2 separate regions of the Homo sapiens genome follow, and region 1 is linked to region 2. The links are contacts of gene promoters, found by promoter capture Hi-C in human tissues and cell types (Jung and others, 2019). All regions are on one chromosome and are shown on one strand. The core of a region is centred on a gene start or on the middle of the fragment in contact, and the rest is flanking DNA. Distances in the headings are between cores, read along the strand shown.

Evidence for each region. The method cuts DNA at HindIII sites, captures the fragments that hold promoters and counts their contacts. A contact is called where the count stands out against the background at its distance.
Region 1: a contact is called between a fragment that was not itself captured here and the fragment with the promoter of LTV1 in region 2, in 1 of the 25 tissues and cell types used here (aorta).

Annotation. Positions count from the first base shown.
Region 1 is chr6:143,894,141-143,898,286 of GRCh38, reverse strand. All of the region lies in intron 4 of ZC2HC1B (zinc finger C2HC-type containing 1B), which reads right to left. Among named protein-coding and RNA genes, the nearest start is that of ZC2HC1B, 32 kb to the right of the region's middle. The HindIII fragment of the contact is 3,121 bases long and covers 468-3,588 here.
Region 2 is chr6:143,841,592-143,845,643 of GRCh38, reverse strand. LTV1 (LTV1 ribosome biogenesis factor) reads right to left here and starts at 2,306. Exons shown (of 11, transcript NM_032860.5): 1 at 2,164-2,306; 2 at 1,027-1,158. The coding sequence starts at 2,166. RefSeq lists enhancers at 1,803-1,872, 2,063-2,272, 2,453-2,502. The HindIII fragment of the contact is 16,427 bases long and covers 1-4,052 here.

The DNA of each region.
Region 1 (4,146 bases), core at 779-3,278, 53 kb before region 2:
TAGCTTGAGCCCAGAAGGTCAAGGCTGCAGTCAGCTGTGATCATGCCACAGCACTCCAGCCTGGGCAACAGAACAAGACCCTATTTCAAATAAGTAAATAAATAAATATGTAAGTAATGATATGAACTCTGCTCCAACATGAAAGAACAAGGTCCCAAACTCTGGTTTGAGACTATTCCAAAGGGCAAGACATGCAGGGCTCAACTAAAGGACATGGCATGGAAAAATGTCACAACCTGTGCATTCATTTCAATTGTCTGTCCTTGAAATGTTTAAGTGATGTACTTTTCCAGAAAAACAAAGAAAATTAATCTTAAGAACTTCTCAATGAAATGAATTATTTAGTAAATCCTGTGTAAAGAAAGTAGTTCTAGAATCACAGAATGTTAGTATTGATGGCACAGTAGGGCACAGAATATTCAAAAGCATAGGTTGTAGTGCTGGGTGGGTCTTAGAGAAGTTACAGAGTTACAGAGGGAGATGGGATGTTTCAAAATGTGGGTTTGGGAGATATGAATGGAAGTCAATGGGACTGTGTCACTGGCAGAAAGACATACTGCTTTTGCAGTGGCTAGATTTTTTTTTTCACTTAACTACTAAGTGAGCAGGCAATATATTCAGGAAGGAGATAGTAATAGGATAAAAGGTGAGGACTCAAAAAACAGAAAAGGGAAAGAAGGAGGGATGATAGGAAAGTTCACCGAAAACAGCTTCAGCTTCCAGAGATGCAATGGCCCAGGCAGCTCCTGTCGGCCCCAGGTTCTCTGTGGTTCTGTATAATATCTTTTTTTTCTTCTTTCATTTGCAATTAACAGACATAATTGGTTACGGAGAGAAATGAGAAGTGGGAAACAGGCAAGATCTTCTTAGAATGTGGAGCTGCTCATAGCAAAACTAGGTTGGCAACTACCCCTCTAAATCAAGCAGGGATTGGTGTTTGCTTTGTTTTGTTTCAGGCACCTTAAAGGGATAGCACACTAGATATCAGCAACATAAAATAATCCCACCGCCCCGACCCCAGGAAGGGTGTGAAACTGCATCAACCTCAAACTCAGTGTAGAACTTGTGTTAGTGTATAGTCAAAATTCCTACATGCGTGGATGGGTATTTCATGTAGTGATGTTAAGAATTTTTTGTAAGCCACCTTTTTAAGCAGTTTGGGGAGTTTCCTATTTGAACAAATCATTTCCTAAAATGTATATTCATAAGATGTAACAATTGTTAAGCACTTAGGAATTATCTGGTAGCCTTATCCTTTATTTCTTACTCCATCCAGAAGGCAGTACCTCATCATTAATTTAACACTGACTGAGCATCTACTTGGTGCCAGGTGCTGTCTTACACCTGGGGATGCAATGTCTCTGAAATCAAGGAGTAAGCATTCTAGCACAGAAACAAATAAATAAAAATTTCACACGGAGATAAATGCCTTGAAAAAAAATAGAACAGGACAGCATTGGGAAATGATAAAAAGCCCAGTGCTGGAGCTTGCCTGACTGGTTTTGAGCCTGAGTTCTTTACTTGCTATGTGTGTGAACTCGGGCAAGTTACCCAACCTCCTTAAGCTTCCATTTTCCCAGCACCTACATATCACCTGTTTCATCGGGTTGTTGTGAAAGTTAACTATGAAAATCCACATAAGGGCCTGGCACAGTGGGCGGGGTGGAACATACTAAATGTTTTGTAAATGCTAGCTATTGCTATAAGGAAACAGGTTCAGCAAGGTTGTGTTTCCAACTACCAAATAGAAGTGAAACTGCCTAGGAAAAAAGTACAATAGAAAGTGCCATTATCATTCAGAATTCATTTACAATGGTTTAGAAGAACCATCTAGAACATGGCTTTTAGCTTGGTGGTTATTTCTTCAATTTTGCCAGCTGGAAAGTGAAGTCTTACATAAGAAATGCTGCAACCATAAACCCTACTCACATTAGGCAAAGACAATGATCATGGCAATACTGAGTTGCTTCCTTAATCCCACTTGCTCATTCACTCACTGCCACCCTTCTGTGTTTGGTACTACATATCACCATGGAGACAGCAAAGTTGAAGTCTATTTCCCTGCCAATGAAAATCTCAGAGATGATTAGGCAAACAGACAATTACTGCTTGGTGGGATAAACTGTAGAAGAAGAGGCACTAGGGCCTCTGGGACCCTACAGAAGGAACATAAGGCCCCACCAGAGGGGCAGAGAGCAGGCAGGAGAGAGTCCTGTGGCTGAGCATTCAAGGTTGCTGATTTCTATTTATGTTGAACTTCACATATTTTGAGAATTGTTGTATTTTCTGCAACAATAATCTGAACCCAGCATAACTGAGCTACATGTTCTACACTCAGCTCAATCGGAGTCACCTCTCTTCCTCTATCAATAATGTTTTCATAAAATCACCATGTCCTATTTATTTCAATAGGTAATGATTTTAAAAGTCAGAGTCCAAATGAATTCTTTCGAGGAATATGGTGGCCAGATCTCAGAGAAAAGTGGAAAACCAAGCATTATTTTAAAATGCCAATATTGTGCTGTGTATCCGTGTCTATGTAGCTATGCAAAATGGTAACTGAATGTCCCAGGCCTCATAGAAAAATAACAATTATAAATATTCTATATCACTGTCCCCATAAACTGTCACAGTATCCTAGAAATTTAAATCATTGACAGACTTAGCTAAGTCACTAAAAAGTAGAATATAGGCATGTCTCAAAAACTGAATCATGAAAATAGGGAATCATGCTGAGGAAAAAAGGGAAATTACTGGCACATTCATGCATGTTAGGCCATGTTATATATAACTCTAGTTATATGTATATAAATTCTTTAGTACTGGCCGGGTGCAGTGGCTCATGCCTGTAATCCCAGCACTTTGGGAGGCCGAGGCATGTGCATTACCTGAGGTCAGGAGTTCAAGATCAGCCTGACCAATATGATGAAACCCCATCTCTACTAAAAATACAGAAATCAGCTGGGCGTGGTGGCGGGCGCCTGTAATCCCAGCTACTCAGGAGGCTGAAACAGGAGAATTGCTTGAACCTGGGAGGCGGAGTTTGCAGTGACCCGAGGTCCTGCCATTGCACTCCAGTCTGGGCAACAAGAGCAAAACTCTGTCTCAAAAACAACAACAACAACAAAAAACAAATAAATTCTCTAGAACTTAAGCCTGAGAATTCTGGGCTAATATAAAATCCTTGCACAAACAAAATCATCAAACCGTGGTGAAAATGTTGGGAGTGCATATAATCATTTGGTTTGTTGCATAAAATTATGTTAAGGACACAAGAAAGAAGTTAATTATAAAATTATGTGTTAGCATAGAAATACAAAGAAAAATAAATTGAACATTTGGTGAGGACTTACAAAAGGAATTTTTTTTAGAGAAACAATAATCCCCACATTTTAGATCCAAGTCACGGTTAGATCCAAGTTGGATCTAAAATGTGAGAGAAATTCACACAGCAGGACATCTGACATGGTTTCACTTATTCAATTAAAGAACCATAAGGTAGCCATCAACCCTGTAGTTTCTAATCTTAAAATGAATATATTTCTCATAAAAGATGTTTTTTGTTATATGAAACTTGTTGCCAAAGTACTTACATTATTACTAAAATCACAGCACAGATCTTTCTACTGAATATCTTAAGACAACACATTATTTCAAGATATATTTTCATTAGCACTCAATAAAAGGGAAGCAAATATGAGGATTATTTTCTGGTATAGAAGTTCAGATGACATATTTTTCAGATGATTTTATAGTATGACTACACTGTGGCTTTTTGTTTTTGCACTTTCTTAAATAGTCTTTTTGAGGAATAATTTACACACAACTAAATGCACCTATTTTACATGTACAGTTCAATGAGTTTTGACGAATGTATCCATTTTAACCACCTCAATTAAAATACAGAACATTTTCGTCACCCCAAAAAGTTCCCTCATGCCCCCTTTCAGTCAATATTTTGCAAAACCCAGTCTCAGGCAGCCAATTATCTATTTCCTATTACTATTCATAAGATTTCCCTGTCCTATAATTTCATATAATAGAACATCTATGTTGCTGCATGTATTTCCTCCTTATAGTTGAGTACTAGACCATTTTGTAAATATTCCACAATCTGTTTATCTATTCAATTGTTGATAGACATTT
Region 2 (4,052 bases), core at 1,057-3,556:
CACTTTGGGATGCTGAGGTAGGAGGATCACTTGAGCCTTGGAGTTCAAGACCAGCCTGGGCAAAATAGTGAGACCTCGTTTCTACAAAATAATTTTAAAAATCAGCCAGGCCAGGTGGCGTGTGCCTGTAGTACCGGCTACTCTGGAGGCTAAGGTGGGAGGATCGCTTGAGCCCAAGAGGTAGAAGTTGCAGTGAGCTGAGATGGAGCCACTTTGCATGCCAGCCTGGGAAACAGAGATTTGGGCGCCTTGAAAGGTAAGTACAATTTCTTGTATTTATATGCAAAAAAACCCTTCTCAACATACAACAAAACTGGCTTTACTGAAAAGCTAAACGTGGCCCATGTCCCCCAGTACTCTGTTTCCCAACACTCTGTTTCATAATATCTACACTTAATAAGTGTTGTGTAACATTAAGAGTCTTAATAAGTAGAGTCTAACATTAAGTCAATCTTTACCAGGCTCCCTTGCAAAGTTCCCTGAGCTAACCAAGGAGCTCAGATATTTTACATTTCCTAAGATGAGCAAGCAGGAGGCAAAATGCAGTTTGCGGTTATGAAACGGCAGGATCTTAGAGAAAGCACAGTTTGAGCATATATCGGTGCCCTAAATAACATCATGCCGCATTGTAGCTGGTGCTTTGGTAAATATTTACCATTATTCTACAAGATTTGCTCGTTTAAACATCTCAAATAAAGATCTTTGTCTTCCCAATCAAAATAATGTGAATGATGTAAAAATCACCAATTGTACTGAAAATTAACTTATAGATTATTTCCCAGAATATCAGTTATCTGAGAATAACAGCTGGCTAACAATTTATTAAAAACTATTAACATAGCAAGGCGTGGTGGCTCATGCCTGTAATCCCAGCACTTTTGGAGGCCAAGCTGGGAGGACTGCTTAAGTCCAGGAGTTCGAGACCAGCCTGGGCAACGTGCTAAGACTCTATTTATTTAAAAAAAAAAAAAGAAAAAAAAAACTATTGTCTACCTACAAACTGACTGGCTAAAGAACAGGACCTACTTTTTGTGTGGGCAATAGAACCCTCTGGGGTGCACTCTCATCTGCTGCTAAAGGATCTCGTTGGCTCCGGTGGACCAAGTGAAAAGACACAGCTTTCTTCTTCTCTATAAAGGGCTTTTTCTTCCTGTGAGGCTTCAAAGGAACAAAATCACAACAATTAATTAAAACAGAACAAAAAGACGGAGAATAATTCCATAGTCCACACATGCATCTTTAGTAGTCATGTTAAAGATACTTTTTAAAAATCTACACTTCTAGGGCAGGCAACATCAGCTGTGTTCTGCAGAATCCATACTTAACCTTCCTTCAACAAACATTCCTTGAGCACCTACTTTGTGCCAGACCTTGTTATGGGAACTGAGAATACAGAAGTGGGAAAGTCAGATAAAGTCCCTGTTCTTAGCAAGAAAATCAAGATAATTTCCGGTGAAGAAAATATAAGACAGTGACGTGAAAATGCCTTAAAAGCTACTTTACACTGGCTGCTCAGGGAAGGCCCCTGGCCGACTGAACTAGAATGACAAGAAGCCTGCCACAACATAATCTGGAGTAGACAGCTCCACACAGAGCATCTACCAACCAGTAAATAAAATCACGACACAAACAGCTAAAGTTTAATAAGATCCATCACCTCTTTCTACATTCTTACTTCGCTATTCAATTTTGATTCTCTAAACTGGGAAACCAATTAAGTGGCTTTACTTTGGGCCCAACCTTATGCTCTCCCACAAGTTCCCTTTCTCAGAGGAAACAGACAGGCAGACACCTGCCACTCCAACGCTGAGGGAGACCAGCAGCTCCCTCTGCTCGACCCCAAGAAGCACAGGGTTGCGCGTTTGTGTCGGCAGTCACCAGCTTTTAGTTAACCGAAATCACGCAGGGCTGCAGGCTCCCAGGGATAAAACAAAAAGGCCATTCTCCTCTCCGGGCCACATCCCAGGGAGGCTCGGCGGTGGGAGACTGTAACTTGCAAAGAATGCCCACGGTGGTGACGTTGGCCCATTTCGGGGTACCGTGCCGCAAGCAGCCTCTGGCATGACCCAGACCCGGGCCGCAGTAGCCAAGGTATTACCGGAAGCAGCCTGGCCTCTGCAAAACCACAGCGCTCGGCCGCCGAAACAAGCAAGGCTTGCTCACCATGCTGCAGCCGCGCGGCGCTCACCCCCAACAGGGGCGGCGATGACACCCTCGAAGTCCGGCGGGGAGACCAAGGTCCAGCTGAAGGCCGCTTCTGTAGGCCTCACCACACGTGCAGCCCCAGGACCCGGCGATAACGTCACCCAGCCGGCCGTGGAAACGGACCAATCGCCGAGGAGCTGATGGGTCGCGACCGGAAGTTACATAGGCTCGCTGCGTCTCCACGATCGCGAGAAGCCACCGGGAGGTGGGGCTAGCTCGGCTCCCACCCCTGGGCGGGCTGTACTTTTCCGGCCTTTAGTCTCCCGCCGGGCAAAGGGAATCGTGGGGGTCCTTAACGTTGAGGCGCCACAGAGGGGTTTCTGCTTGTGGACGAACCTTTTATAGCTCCCTCTACGGAGACCAGAGGGGACGAATCTAGCATCCCCCTTGACTTGTGTCCCTTACCTATTCCCAACCATAAAAAACAAAGCCGCGGACACGGAAGGGAGGCGACCACCCCGCTGGGGTGCTGGGGTCGCCAAGTTTCAGGTTCCCTCTCCGGGTGGGGGCGGAGTCGGTTGCCGTAGCAACGGAGGCTGGGGCCTTGCCTTTATAGACTGCATCAGACTTGATCAGGTTATATTTTCCACTGTTTCATGAACTGCTTTCATCTGCCCTGTTAACCAAACCCCCGAGACTCTGTTAACTGTAGAGGCATTTGAACTAATAAAATATATTCAGAATCTCTGGTGTTTGAATGTTAACTTTCTCCCCCTGTTTAAACAAATAGGCTATAAGCACGCATTCTTAGGAAGATTTCAGGCCGGCGTTGGCGTACTCACATAGCTTTTCTTGGACGAAAGTGTGTGGTAAATGCAGTCACTTTCATCAGCAGACCTTTTTTTCAAATTTGTTTCCCCAACTTCCCAGTTTCTGGTGACCTCTCAATGAATGGCTTACCCTGGATTGTGTCTTTATGCCGTAGGCATTATCACTGTAAGTATTTGTGGAGTATTATTCTTTTATTACAGTAAAAATTATAGAAATAGGCCAGGCGCGGTGGCTCATGTCTGTCATCCCAGCACTTTGGGAGGCCGAAGCGGGTGGATCACCTGAGGTCAGGAGTTCAAGACCAGACTAGCCAACGTGGTGAAACCCCGTCTCTACTAAAAATACAAAACTTAGCCAGGTGTGATGGCAGGTGCCTGTAATCCCAACTACTTGGGAGGTTGAGGCAGGAGAATAGCTTGAACCCGGGAGGCAGAGGTTGCAGTGAGCTGAGATCATGCCATTGCACTCCAGCCTGGGCGACAAGAGCGAAACTCTGTCTCAAAAATATATATATATAGAAATAATTTAGGTTAGGACCATAAAACTTGTCTTAGGATATTGCTTTGTAACAGAGATAATACATAGCACTCCTATGTGCCAGAGATTCGTTGTTATTATTCATTATATAGAATTAAAAGATCCAAGGGGGCAGTTTTCATTTCCTTTCAATCAGTTGTACTTACTGCTGTATCATCAGGGGCCTGATGCATGGGGCATATATGCTCAGTAAGTATTTATTTAAATGAATTAATGTTCTGGCACTTTATCTGAATCATCTCATTTCATCCTCACTGCAACACTATGAAAGAGACGCAATTATCTTCAGCATCTTACAAATCCTAAAAATGAGGCAAGAGAAATACAAACTAAGTACTAAGCCCCCCAGCTGACTGAACGGACTCCCTTTTGGCCAAGGGGACCCAGAGTAACCTTGAAAACTGAGTTCTTGCTTTGCCTTGTTATATCCCCTCCCTCACTAACCAGGATCAGGCTTTCTTCCCTAAGGGATAAATAGAAACCATCCCTTTCAAAAGACTCCACCACTGATATCAGCCTGTTGCTGCCCTCCGTTTTGT